Regions from separate parts of the Homo sapiens genome. Here all the other regions are linked to region 3. Evidence: promoter capture Hi-C in human tissues and cell types (Jung and others, 2019). All regions are on one chromosome and are shown on one strand. The core of a region is centred on a gene start or on the middle of the fragment in contact, and the rest is flanking DNA. Distances in the headings are between cores, read along the strand shown.

The links. The method cuts DNA at HindIII sites, captures the fragments that hold promoters and counts their contacts. A contact is called where the count stands out against the background at its distance.
Region 1: the fragment with the promoter of ATG2B here is called in contact with the fragment with the promoter of TCL1A in region 3 in 1 of the 25 tissues and cell types used here (mesendoderm cells).
Region 2: a fragment that was not itself captured here is called in contact with the fragment with the promoter of TCL1A in region 3 in 1 of the 25 tissues and cell types used here (lymphoblastoid cells).

Annotation. Positions count from the first base shown.
Region 1 is chr14:96,360,326-96,365,033 of GRCh38, reverse strand. ATG2B (autophagy related 2B) reads left to right here and starts at 1,693. Exons shown (of 42, transcript NM_018036.7): 1 at 1,693-2,219. The coding sequence starts at 2,058. GSKIP (GSK3B interacting protein) reads right to left here and starts at 1,508. Exons shown (of 4, transcript NM_016472.5): 1 at 1,466-1,508. RefSeq lists a silencer at 1,236-1,585 and enhancers at 787-1,607, 1,528-1,822, 3,064-3,133. The HindIII fragment of the contact is 16,004 bases long and covers 1-4,708 here.
Region 2 is chr14:96,472,587-96,477,533 of GRCh38, reverse strand. It overlaps AK7 (adenylate kinase 7), which reads right to left. Exons shown (of 18, transcript NM_152327.5): 14 at 4,779-4,847. Among named protein-coding and RNA genes, the nearest start is that of PAPOLA-DT, 27 kb to the left of the region's middle. RefSeq lists a silencer at 3,296-3,496. The HindIII fragment of the contact is 5,148 bases long and covers 1-4,655 here.
Region 3 is chr14:95,712,807-95,717,132 of GRCh38, reverse strand. TCL1A (TCL1 family AKT coactivator A) reads left to right here and starts at 3,008. Exons shown (of 4, transcript NM_021966.3): 1 at 3,008-3,186. The coding sequence starts at 3,067. It overlaps LOC107984703 (a long non-coding RNA gene), which reads right to left and starts at 1,650. Exons shown (of 3, transcript NR_148060.1): 1 at 1,426-1,650. RefSeq lists a silencer at 2,754-2,993 and an enhancer at 3,224-3,273. The HindIII fragment of the contact is 10,029 bases long and covers 479-4,326 here.

The sequences.
Region 1 (4,708 bases), core at 444-2,943, 650 kb before region 3:
TTTACTGAATAAATGAACAAACTTCCACTTTATTGAGAGAAAGGGTCTTGCTCTGTGGTTCAGGCTGGAGTGCAGTGGCATGATCATAGCTCGTACGATCCTTTCTGATATTTGAAATTGCAGGCACTCTATGGATAGCGTCAATGCAATTATGCAGCCTCAAAGTCCTGGGCTCAAGCGATCCTTCCGCCTCAGCCTCCACAAGCAGGTACCACCATGCTTCCGTTTTAGAACATAAACTCCTTGAAGGTTCGGCCTGATTCTTGACACTGTTCACATGATCAACTGTGGTGACTTTCATTTAATGGACCTTAACAAATATTTCTGAATGAAGAGCAAGGGAATCTAAGTTACTGAGAATACTTGAGATGAGTCTACAAAGAATGAGGGAAATCAACAATCCAAGCAACTGCATACAAAGTACCCTGGTTCTAAAACGAAAAGGTGGTTGTGGAAAGGGGAACCAGATGTTTCTCCATCTACCAATATTTTGGGCTGTATTTCCAAGGCATTCATGAAAGTTGCCGAGACAGTAAACATTTCACTCCTTAAACTGGTCGTCTTAATTCACTGTGATTAAACAGCTGTATGTTTCAGGACTCTGTTCAGGTTCGTGCCCTACTCATATCATTTAATCTTCCCAACAAATCCATGCACATAAGATTTTAATCCGCTCACACTCGGCAAAGGAGGCAACGTGGGCTCGGGGAGGGCAGTGGCCGCTCAAAGTGGCTGGGCGGCTAATAGGTGTCAGTGCCGGGATTCTAACGAAGGACATCTGGCTTCTGGGCCATAGAACACCCGCACCCAGGCCTTTCGAGGTTGACTTAACTTAACAGCCGGCTCCGCCTCTGCAGGAGTTACCTCCCAAAAGGCAGAAATACGATTGCGCAGACTGCCAGAACAGCCCAAGTTCTTCACCCAGGTTCCGGCGGGGTCAGGAGCCTTTAGCATTTCTCAAGGAATGCAGTTTTGCCCACAGATGCTTCGAAAACCCAAGTTTCCTGATCGTTGCTATGACACACCCAGGATTAAGCGAGCGTATGCGAGAAGCGCTCTGCAAACCGCCAGGCAAACGGCAACGAAGAAGCTGCCTCAGAAACAATACCTGAATGAGGCGGGGGCCGAAGAACTTGCTGACAATGGGCACCGGTCAATGCTCGGGTGCGGGCGGGGATGCTCGAGAAGGGCTCCAGTCCTCCCAGCGGAGACGGCGGAGCCCCAAGTGTGCGTTTCCGGGGCGCCGAGGTCTGAGGGGAGCCGGGAGAGCCAGGCCGGCCAGACCGGCCCCCAGACCCCTCTTAACACGGGCGCGGGGCCCCTGCAGCCTGCCGCCCCTCTCGGCCCAGCCAGCTGCATGGCGTCGCGTCCCCATCCGGAAGGCCTGACGGCCCGCCGGCGCCCCGAGCCCCTAGCCCTTCTCGGGGGCCGCCCCTCGCCCGCAGCCACCCCGGCTGCCGCTCACCTGCGCGCCCGGCGTCCTCTTCTTCCTTCCTCCGGAGGCGACTGGAGCCGACCGGCGGTGCCGCCCCCTCCCTCCCCGCCTTCTTCCGCCCCGCCCCCTCGGAGCCGGAACTGCTCCAGCCCCCGCCCTTCTGCCCGCCTTCCGCGGCCCCAGTGTGGCGTCACTTCCGCCAGCGCCCGGCGGCGCGCCGGGAGTCTGGGTCTCGTGAACGCGCCAGGAGCGTCCCTACAGCCGGGAACGCGCCTCGCGGATGACAACAAATTCGTCGCGCGGCGGCAGTGGCGGTGGCTGCCTCAGCCCCTGCCGCCTCCTCTCGCGCTCTCTTGCACTCTCTCCGAGCCGGTTGGGACCCTCCTCGGAAGTCCCCTGGCCTGGGGCCAGGAGGACCCCTCTGCGTCTTGCCTCCGCCAGGCCCAGCGCGAGCGGTGCGGCGCCGGCGATGGGGTCTCCCTGAGGGACTCCCGGCACCAAATAGGGATGGAGGGGCCGCCCCAGGCTTAGGCCCCGCCGCGGCCTGGAGCCGGAGTCGCTACCCCGAGGCCGGAGCCGTCGCAACCCGCAGCCGCAGTCAGCCCAGCTGCCAGCAGTCACTATGCCTTGGCCGTTTTCGGAGTCCATCAAGAAGAGGGCCTGCCGGTACCTCCTGCAGAGGTACCTGGGCCACTTTCTGCAGGAGAAGCTGAGCCTGGAGCAGCTCAGCCTGGACCTGTACCAAGGCACCGGGTCCCTCGCCCAGGTCCCCTTGGACAAATGGGTAAGAGCTGCCGGCGGCGAGCCGGGCGGGGCTCGCTCCCCTCTTTAGGGCGCTTTGAACCAGTGCCATCCAAGATTGGTGACAGTCAGTCCCTCCTTGGGAATTGTTTGGACCCGAGTGTGACACGGCTCAGAGAAATGTGTTAGAGTGTTGTTTAATCTGTTTCTAACAAGTTTGCTCTCCTAAATCACGTGTTCCGGAAACTTTAACAGATGTAATGGAATCTACACTGTGGGAATAATTGAGTCAGTGCTTCGGGGGTCTGTGAAGCAGGCTCAATAGGTCCGTGGGAGGAGGTGACCAGAACTGTCCCTCGGGATGTGAGGGGCCGCAGGGTTTTGTGGCAAACAAACCCTGCCTTGTGGGATGACATTCTGGAAGGATTAAGGATGAAGAGGACCTTTGGATGTCAGAATCCCTAGTTATTTGTTTTGGGTTGGCTGCTTGCGCACCATGTTTGCCTTGTTTGTCATCGTGCAGCGTTTGCCATCTGGAAGAAAGTTAGGTGAAGGCCTCTTGTGCCGGTTTGCCTGCTTTTGCTTGATTATATGTTTACAAGATAGGTTTGTGTATCCAGCCTGTGAATGGTCGTCTGGCCCTAGTAGTGCTGTTGAGTTATGCCTCTTTGCTCCACGTGACAGATCGTAAAAGCAGGTGTTGCAAAAGCGCTGAAGTTGCAATTTTCAGACATTTTAAAACCTGCCTTCTACTTGTCATCTAGAGGCTGTGAATTCACTCATTGCTATACAGGTGCTTCATCTGAATTTCGACTCACCACATGCAGTCGTACCTGCATTTGTGTGTTCAATGCATAGCATTTTACTTAAAGTATATTCACTTTTGGGTTTGACAGGAATAGAGTGACTTCTACCCTTTGCCCAACCCTTACTTCCTTAGCCACAGAAAATCTTAAATTATGGAAATACCTTATTATGACCCTTAAGCGAATTTGTGCTAGAGACTATAAATCAGTATATAATTTTATCAGTATGTACCTGACATAAACTAGGGAGAGGACACAAGATAGTGGAAAGAGCCCTGGTTTGAGAGCAGTAAGACCCAGTCGCTCACCAGGAGGTGAGAGTCCTACCCCTGGAGAGACTCTCCAGACCGCCACAATTAGCCGAGTGATAATGGACTTAGCAATTCACCTGAGTTCAGTAAACACTAATGGAGCACACACTTCATCTCTGTGTCGTCCGTCTTATGGTATTGTATTCCTGTAATTCTTCCAAAAGATAGGGATTCTGAAGGATATTTTTGAATTCAACAACCCATGATTCTATACTTTTGATACAGTTATGAATAGGTTATCTTGAAAAAAGAGGGTTCAGGATTTATTAATGCCTTTTGTGGGTGGAAGGGCTTTGTATGCATTATCCTTTAATGACTTTAACCCTATAAGGTGGGCATTAATATTTCCATTTTACAGATGGAGTTAAGCAGTTTGCCCCATCACACATCTAGCAAGTATTACATCACATGGCCTAAGATCAAAAGAAAGGCAGTTAATGTTTATTGAGTATGTATTTATGTCAGGCATTGTACTAGGCACTTTCATTTGTGAGGTTTTATTTAGTCCTTATGGGAAATCAGAGGTAGTGATATTTGAATTTTATAGTTTGAGTTCAGAATCATTGGCAAAATGATTTATTACTAAACTTAATCTGAGGATGATGTTTTGTTCTTGATGGGCGGGTTTTGTAAACTAAAATGATAATGTCAAAGCATCCAGTAAACATTTGCTGTTGCTGATTTATTTTCATGTGCTGTGTTGATGGTTAGGATAAATCTTAGTGTGACCCTTAGATACAGCTGTTCAGAGTTCTGATTCCAAATTCAGTTTATTTTCACACTTGATTTTTTTTTTTTTTTTTTTTTGGTAGAGGATTCATTCTCTTGCTTTGTTGCCAAAGCTGGTCTTGAACTCCTGGTTTCAAGTGGTCCTCCCACTTCTGCCTCCCAAGTGCTCAGATTACAGGCATGAGCCATAGGACCCAGCCAGATACTTGATTTTAATGACTTACATGACTGAAAAAAAGGTACCTTCGGAGATTCACAGATCCTAATGGAAAAACTGATGCTAATTGAAGAATTGCTGTACTCCTACTGTTTCAATTCTAAATGATCAATTATGCAAAGAATTTTGTTGAACTCAGCAATGACATTCCTTTCATTCCTGATCTCAATTAGTTTTTCTATTATGGCTAATTGACATTGCATATATACACACAATTAGGTTTAAAATTCAGTTTTTCAAGCTCTTTGTTCAGAAGACTTAGATTGGTTGGAATAGTCTTTTCATGTTTTTAAACATTTTGTAAACTATATAGATAATGACTTAAAAAATAAGCAATGTTTTTAATAGACATTGTTTTCAGCAACAAAATCATGGAACAATGGAAACATTTCCAAATACAGTTTTTCAAATGTTCTCCTCATAGTACAAGTAGTCTTTGAAAAGTGGTTGCTTTCTTACTCATTATTAA
Region 2 (4,947 bases), core at 832-3,331, 760 kb before region 3:
GTTGTGATTCTTAGATGTTCTCAACTACAGGAGCAGGGTATACTGGTGCCCAGATCAGTGTCTGGGTGCATCACAAATAGCTTGCTATCTATTAGAGCTCAACAGAACTTGGGAATGATTTGATTTTTGTTCTAAAATTGTATTGGCTTATAACATCATAATGCCATTCTCGTTTACTTGCATTCTAATAAGCTTCCTTGAGTGGGTGAAAAAGGTAAGTGTAATGGGGAAAGCCCACAGGAGGTGTGTCCCCGAGGCATGTGGACATGTGTGAACATCATCTGCTGCAGATGTTAACTGTGAAAACAAAGGCTGAGACAGCGTGTGGAATAAGATCCTATAAATTCATAATAGTTTGATACTACCTCCATTCTGCATACAAGAGGTGTTTTCGCAAGTAAGTTGTTCCTATTTTTTGCTCATCTTTTACCATTTGATTGTCATGATTTTCATGAGTGGCTGCCTTTTGAAAAGGAAGGTAGACATATGAAGCCTCAAATGCTGGTACGGTACTGAAATCAAAAGGATGTCAACAGATTCGCTGAAAATTGAATCCATTTAAGCTCTATGATGTCGGACATCTATATGAAAACTTATTTTCTTTTTAGATTTTTCCCTAACATGATACTCATTTGTTAGAAAATGTATGAACTATGTTAATAATCTATGAATTTCAAAAATATATTCTATCTTTCTTCCAGGCTGATCAGGAGGTGGAAGATTCCAGTTAATCAAATAATGAGTAACATCCTTGGCTTTCCAATTTTCAAAGATTTTTAATATGATAAAATATACTTCTCACTAGATGATTTTTAAAAAAATGTTCATTCTCTTTATGACTCAGAGAACTTCAAGATTCTGCAGTATCTCAAGACAGTTATTCAGAACATCTATTGTCCTTGCACTGGCTAACTGTGGATAGCGAGTAATAGATTTCTGCTTGGTAAGACCGTAGATAACAAGGAGGTCACTGTATTTGGCTATCTGGAATCACATGAAAAATCTATGGTTTTTTTTTTTTTTTTTTTGAGACAAAGTCTCGCTCTTGTCCCCCAGGCTGGAGTGCGGTGGCGCGATCTTGGCTCACTGCAACCTCTGCCTCCCGGGTTCAGGTGATTCTCCTGCCTCAGCCTCCCAAGTAGCTGGGATTATAGGCGTGCACCACCGTGCCTGGCTAATTTTATATTTTTAGTAGAGATGGGGTTTCACCATGTTGGCCAGACTGGTCTTGAACTCCTGACCTCAGGTGATCTGCCCACCTCGGCCTCCCAAATTGCTGGGATTACAGGTGTGAGCCACTGCGCTGGGCTGAAAAAGCTATGTTTTAACAAATTTCCAAATATTAATCAGGTAGGTACAACTTTAAACTTATCTCCTTCAACCAAGAGGTCTTCAAAGAATCAAACTGGACATAGGCTAACAGCAGTGGTAAAATGCAATGGTTGCTCAATGGGAGAGAATACCATCTAGAACTGTATTACCATAGATTGGAATGTGTTTCTTTTATTTTCTGTATCTTATGCTTTGATTTCTTTTTTTTTTTCTTTTTTTTTTTAAGAGACAGGGTCTCACTGTCACCCAGGCTGAAGTGCCGTGGCATGATCAAGGCTCACCACCGCCTTGACCTCCTGGGCTCAAGAGATCCTCCCACTTCAGCCTCCTGAGTAGCTGGGACCACAGGCACATGCCACCACACCCAGCTAATTAAGAATGTTTTTGTGTGTGTGGAGATGGGGGTCTTGCTATATTGCCCATGCTGGTCTCCAACTCCTGGACTCAAGCAATCCTCCTGCCTTAGCCTCCCCAAGTGCTGGAATTGCAGGCGTGAGCCACCACACCTGGTCTGTTTTGACATCTTCAGGGGGGCCTTACAGATCTGGGGAGAGACTGCTGTCCTTCCCAGGCCTAGCCAATACCTAAAGATAGTAACAACTTGCTTGGGAATGCCCCTCCTATGCAAGCCACTCAATCCATTTATCTAATCTCACACAGCAAGCCAGTATTTCCCTTGCCCTAAATCATCCCAGGACCAGGCCCCAGGCAACTAGAGACCACCCGTAAACTCAAACTAGCCAGTCCCGAACGGTTCACTGTGGCCTGTCTTGGCTTTCCCAAAGAAACCCCAACAACGGCATTGATCTAGACCTTTCCCCTTGTTCTTGCTTCTGCCGCCTGACCAAACCTGGCATTCCCCATGTGCCCCCATCTCTAGGGAATCCTAAGTGTAAATTATTTCAATGGCATTGACCTCTCTATGTCACCATTCAGTTCCCTCCCTCAATTAAAATCCTACAAGTACGAATGAAACAATGCCCTACTTTCTTTCAGAGAAATAGAAAATAAAGACAATTTCTGAAAAGTTTGCTAACAACAGATTAACGTTCCAAATAGATTACGTCTTAGACGTGTTTGCACTGTGTCCAACAAAGAATGGAAAGTCCAGTGGCCTACGTTTAAGAGTCCTTGGTCACTTGACCTCTGTGCTTCCATTTCCTTATCTCACAGGCAGGTTTCATTAATTGTTTTGGAGGCAGTGGAGTGAGAAGACCTGAGTTTTAATTTAATCCCCCTACCATTTACTAGTGAGTGGACTTGCATAAATCTCTAGGCTTTAGCTTCTGGATTGGGTAAACATGGGTGTAATTCCTGCCTTGCAGGATTGTGGAAAGGTTCAATGAGTGCCTGGCACATGACAAATTGTGCACGACCAATTGCCAGTTGAACTGAAATGTATCCAGCTGCCTGGATGTTATGGGTGTTATGATTTAGCACAGAGTTTGCAATGAGTGAATATTGCCTAGAAGTGATAAACAAAATGCACTGGACACACCTACCTAGAATTTAATAATCAACAATAAAGTAGATGAACAAACTTTACTTTTTATTTTATTTTTTTAATTAATTTTTTTGAGACCGGTTCTTGCTCTGTTGCCCAGGCTGGAGTGCAGTGGTGTAATCAGGGCACCTGCAGCCTTGACTTCCCACACTCAAGTGATTCTCCTACCTCAGCCTTCCAAGTAGCTGGGACTACAGGTGCATGCCACCACCCCCAGCTAATTTTTTTGATTTTTTTTTTTTTTTTTTTTTAGTAGATATGAGGTCTCACTATGTTGCCCAGGCTGGTCTCTAACTCCTGAGCTCAAGAGATCCTCCCACCTTGACCTTCCAAAGTGCTGGCATTACAGGCACTGTGTCTGGCCAATCAACTTAGCCCACAGGCAAACAATAAATATCCATCCCCAAGGATGACTGCTATCTGGTGGTCTCAGTCCTTCCAGAAGCTTCTCTGCAAACTGTGCTGGACCAAGAGAAGAAAACAGCCACAAGCTGCCTTCCTCGGGGACTTGATACCAGTGAGCAGGCAGGCCCTTTTCAGTTACAGCCTTGTCCTAAGTTGCTGAAAATAGCTTTTCTTCTAGCGATCATATGACCCAAAATGATTCCCTATGAATATCTACCTCAAGCAAACTGACTAAAAACAACAACACTTTTTAACGTTTACAGGAAGGTCACAAGAAATGCCTGCTCAGTACTAAGTAAATCCTGTTGTGTACGATAAATTGCTTATGCTTTGCTTTCAAGAGTACTTTGTGAAATCCCTGTGTAAATATGTGATAGAATAAAACCACTGTGGAGTTAAGAGTGAACTGAAAAGCTTTTGACCTGTGCAATCTCAAGTCAGAAGCTGAATGTCTTTTGGAAGAGATGAGGGCACGGTTAGCACCAAAACCAGGGCAGGGAAGGAGGCTACATGACTCACGAAGTCAAGCCATCAGCAGATTTGCTACCTTTTGCTTTGTTACAGGAGAGAGCAGTGGAAGACAACGTTCCCACAGGGATTTCTATTCATTTCAGCAATTTAATATTCCTCATGTTTATCCGTTGGTGCATTCTCTAGTTTGCAAGTTTATGCTTGAGAATGTCTTTTAATATTTTTCCTAAAAAAAAAAATCCTACTTTATTAAACTCAAAAAGATTCTTTTGGCACAAAAGGGATATTGGGCTACTCTAGGCACACTGCCTATGGTGTAGCCCTGCTCCTTAAGAAGTAGTTAAAAAAAAAAAAAAAGAGCCTGGGCAAGGTGGCTCACACTTGTAATCCCAGCACTTTGGGAGGCCAAGGCGGGTGGGTCGGGAGATCGAGACCATCCTGGCTAACATGGTGAAACCCCGTCTCTACTAAAAATACAAAAAAATTAGCCAGTCATGGTGGTAGGCGCCTGTAGTCCCAGCTGCTGGGGAGACTGAGGCAGGAGAATGGCGTGAACCCGGGAGGCAGAGCTTGCAGTGAGCTGAGATCGCGCCACTGCACTCCAGCCTGGGCAACAGGGCAAGACTCAGTCTCAAAAAAAAAAAAAAAATTAGCTGGGCATGGTGGCAGGCACCTGTAGTCCCAGTTACCGGGGAAAACAAAGAGAAAAGAGAGAGATATCAGACAGCATTCTTCTTTTCTTTTGAAACAGAGTCTCTGTCGCCCAGGCTGGAGTGCAGTGGCAGGATCTCGGCTCACTGCAATCTCTGTCTTCTGGGTTCAAGTGATTCTCCTGCCTTAGCCTCCCGAGTAGCTAGGACTACAGGCACACGCTACGACACCCAGCTAATTTTTGTATTTCTAGTAGAGATGGGGTTTCGCCATGTTGGCCAGGCTGGTCTTGAACTCCTGACCTCAGGTGATCCACCCGCCTTGGCCTCCCAAAGTTCTGAGATTACAGGCGTGAGCCACCACGCCCAGCCCAGAGAACATTCTTTTAAATGTGATCTTAGGGAAATAAACTTACCAGGTATAATTAATTTATCAAAGGGAAACATTCTGCCTCTGACATCATCTTCCTCCTCCTCATCTTCCTCTAAGAAAACAAAATATTCCTCATTGTGTTTATTAATATATTATTACTATGGATCACAGCAAAAAATTCCAAATATCTTAAGTAGCAAGCACTAATGAAA
Region 3 (4,326 bases), core at 1,759-4,258:
GAAATTGTACTTAACCCTGCCTACGTGTTAGCATCACCTACTTTTCTCAAGCCTCAATCTCGGAGATTCTGATGTAATTGGTTTGGAGTGGGATCCAGGCGCAGGTGTTTCATTAAAGCTTCCCAGGTGATTCTTAGTGGTTTAGGCTCAGTCATCATAGGGCCCAAAGGCCTAAACACCTAAGTAGCCTCTAAATAGGCTCTTTCCAGCTTGCTATAATCATTGACAATCAAGGACCCCAGGGTTGGTGAGGATGACCTTGGTTACTAGGATTTTCTTTTAAGAGGAAAACACTCTATATATTAGAGGTGATTTTGGCAGAAAATAAGATAGCCTGGAAGTAAATGATACACAAACACCGATATAAGTCCTGTGTCATAGTTGGAGAAATCTGGAGGGCACTGGTGTGTTGAATCAGACACCCCCTATCTCTCCCTCTTGACCCTCCCTCCATATAGCCCAACATTTACCATGCCCGTGAATCACCTGGGGGTCTTGTTCCAATACAGATTCTGACTCAGTAGTCTTGGGGGAGGCTCCAGATTCTGTCATTCTTACGAGCTCCAGGTGATGCTACTGTAGCTGGTCCAGGGACAACACTTTGAGTCAAGGTCATCCTGATGGCCTTGACTACTCCTCAACCCCTTCTTTGGAACCCAAACAAGAAGAATGGCTCCCATGAATTCCACTGGGGTCCTTGATCTACAGCCACTGTACCAAAAACTGTAGGCATTCCTGAACTAACATCATATATTTTGTCCATCTCTTTTCTTAACTATTCCCTCCTCCCACTAGGCAATGTTATAGGAGGATTGGGGCCTACTGAGTTAGAAACAAGCTTAGAGAGCAGGTATTTTGCCCCATTCATTACAAAACTATGGCACTGAGGCCAAGTTGCAAAGGATTTGTCAAGTTCACAGGTGATCGTGGTAAAGGCAAAACTAGATCTAAATCAGGACATGAACGCATCCATTAAGGATTCTGTCAAAATGATTGCTTCCTGTAGCTTTCTGTGTGAAACATCCATTTGCTTATCCTCAGGGAAATCAGACTAACAAAGACTTGGAAAGGAACATAAAATTCTAAAGCTAGGCTTATGGCCTTTATAACCCTTAGATGGGGCAGATAACATGCCACGGAGGCTCAGAGACAGCTCTGAGACTATGCAATAGCTACTGTTTCCCCTCTTGTGGAATGTTCACTTAAAAAAGCTCAAGGGCTCTATAAGTTGCCCAATGAACTCCACAGACATCCTTAATTCATTTTCATTTATTGGAACCCTCTCTCAAATAATTTTCTAAATCTCACGCAATAATGATGTATATTCTTGCTCAATATTAAGAAGCCCTCATGCAAAACTGAAGAAATAAATTGTTCTTACAAAAGAAGGAAAAAGGAATTATATTCTCAGAACATTCTGCTTACCCAGACACACAGATCTGATTCTTGCTCCATTGTTTGTGGCATTCTGGATCCTAGGGCCATTGATGAGGCTGGGTCAGTGGCCACACTGGCTCCTGGGTACCCCTTCCCTGGCCACAAAAGTCCATCCCAGCAGCACTATTTAAACTGGACTTATTTCTCACTTCACAGCTCTGGCCTGGGCTGAGACCTCCCCAACAGAGCTTATTAGCGAGCTTGTCATCTTGCTCTGTGGCTATCTAGGTCTGGAGTCAAGAGCCATTCACAGGAAAATCAGCATGAAACCTTTAAGTTTGCATATTAAATATTAACACCACTAAGGGCTACAGTGGAAAAGAGGTTTGCTGAGCTCAAGGGCCCTCACTCCACCCCCAACTTCCCTTGGCTTTTCTCTTCTATGTTGTGTTCCTGGTAAATCCCATTATGTCTCGACTACCTTAGGCCCTCTCAGCCCCTTCTTGGGAATTAGGCTCTCTGGATAGGCAAAGAGGCAGATACCCAGCTGCCAGGTGAATCAGATGTCCTCATCAGATCTCTTAATTTCCACTTTGGTGATATTTCAAAGGATCACAAATTATGTTCTTAGTGCCTGGTCAGAGAACTGGGAAAGAGCTGGAAGATGAGACACCAAACTCCATCCCATGGTGATGTTTGAACCAGGCTGGAGCTGGTTTCACATGTTTTTCATTGTGCATGACTTTCTTAATTGCCTTAGTGGGAATGCGTTACTGCAAAATAAAGTGAAATTGTTTTCCTTATTGCTTGTAATTTACAGAGGGGTGGTTTTGATCATATAAACCAGGCACTTTTCAAATCCATTGATCTTAGGGTGGAAGGAGGGATTTCTTTTTAAGTATTCATTTCGAACTATGCTTTCACTAGTAAACTCAAAGCCCAAGGGCAAAAACCCATGATTCTCCATTTTGTAATAGCTATTAGATGTCCACAGCACATCAGACCTGTGGAAAACGCATGCTTTGTGTATGGAAGAGGGAGAGGGAGCGTCAGGAGTTGTCCTTTGCCAAAAAACGTACTCTGACACTCAAAGGCACAGGCTGGTGGAGATCCAGGGAACCCGGGAAAGCCCAGGCCTAACTCAGGCCCGCGCGGGTCTCTTCTGATCCCATAAGATGAGGAGTGGGTCCTGGCTCTGGGCATCCTGGTGTCGACTGTGAGTTCCCAGCAGAGGCCCAGAGTCCCGGTCCGGCAGCCGAGGGAAGCGGGGGGGTCTTCCAGAAGAAGAAAGGGCCAAGGTCACCCCGGTGCCTCTCCAGCAGCAGCAGAGGGCGGCGGTCGGTGTCGCTGCTGGCCGGGGCCTCGAGGAAGGCGCGGGCCAGCTGGGGCCGGGTCTGCGTTCCCAGGAGCTGCCACCGTTCCAGGGAGCAAGTCAGGCCGGGACGTAGCGCCTGCGCGGGACCCTCACTTGCCACCAAGACCCCCACAAACCCCGCCCCATCCTGCCTTACGCCCCGCCCCAAGGTCGTTCTCCCGACCCGGGGTCCCGCCCCAAGGCCGTCCTCCCGCCCCGCCGCTTGGTGGCGGCCGCATGCTGCCCGGATATAAAGGGTCGGCCCCACATCCCAGGGACCAGCGAGCGGCCTTGAGAGGCTCTGGCTCTTGCTTCTTAGGCGGCCCGAGGACGCCATGGCCGAGTGCCCGACACTCGGGGAGGCAGTCACCGACCACCCGGACCGCCTGTGGGCCTGGGAGAAGTTCGTGTATTTGGACGAGAAGCAGCACGCCTGGCTGCCCTTAACCATCGAGGTACAGCCAGCTTTGGAGCGGATGGCGAGGCAGCAGGGGCAGCCCCTGGGAGCTTGGGATGCCCTAGGAAGGGCGAGGACTCAAGGAGCACTCACTATGGGGCAGGGAGGATCCCCACAGATGAAGCCACTTTGAGCCGGGCTCTGGAGGATGAATAGGAGTTCTCCAGGCAGGGAAGAAGGGTGGGAAAACCGCAAAGGAATGTCGGTCAAAGGGGTGGACCCAGTGCCTGTGGAGTGTGACTATAATGTTGACTACAGCAGGCATTTTCTGGGCTTCGGGGTCCTAATCCTTAAAAATGGGTATCTCTAAGTGACTCATCCATATGGCCGATTATCGGAATCATCTCAGGTGGGTCCCAGAAATCTGTATTTTTAAAAAGAACCCTCAACAGTTTAGGGTCAACCAGGCATAGCAAACACTGGCCTAGAGTGTGAAGTATTTTCCACTACCTCTGGGCTTTATTTAGAAAACAAATTTAACAAGTGATGTCGTAGTATAAGCGCCGGTATTGAATCAATATTGACTTTTTTAATGTGTGATGCCTTAAGATGGGTCCTTAATCCATGTTAAGTTTTTGTTAAAGAAATAGATAAGTCTTTTACAAGTATTTGGATTTACTCAATGAAAAAGAGTCAAAAAATGTTCAAACTCTCTCCAAACATACACTGAAGAAAGCATAAAAATTAAAAAATATATTAGAACACGTATGTCCAGTAGCAATCAAAAATTATTGAGTGTTGACTGTGTCTCTACAGATGGGAAACTGAGGCACAAAAATGTACATTTGTCCGAGGTAAGATTGCTAGTAGGTAATGGGGTTGGAATTCTAGGCTCTTAACCACCACAAAATCTGCATTTTTATTGGCATTTCAATTTTTTAAATATGTTTTTACTTTAAAAATCAAGTTAAATACTTACTTTTTTAAAATCAAAATTTGAAGAAATAATTTGAAGATTCAGTGGATTTCTTTTTTTAAATCTCTGAGAAATCTCTTCTTCAACGTGACACCAAAACCACGAACCAGACAGTTTTTCATAAAATCATGATACATGCTCCACAAAAAATAACCCACTAGCAAACTGTGGGACAGATTTTGCCTCACATCATTGAAAAGGCCAGTATTCTTTTTCTCTCTT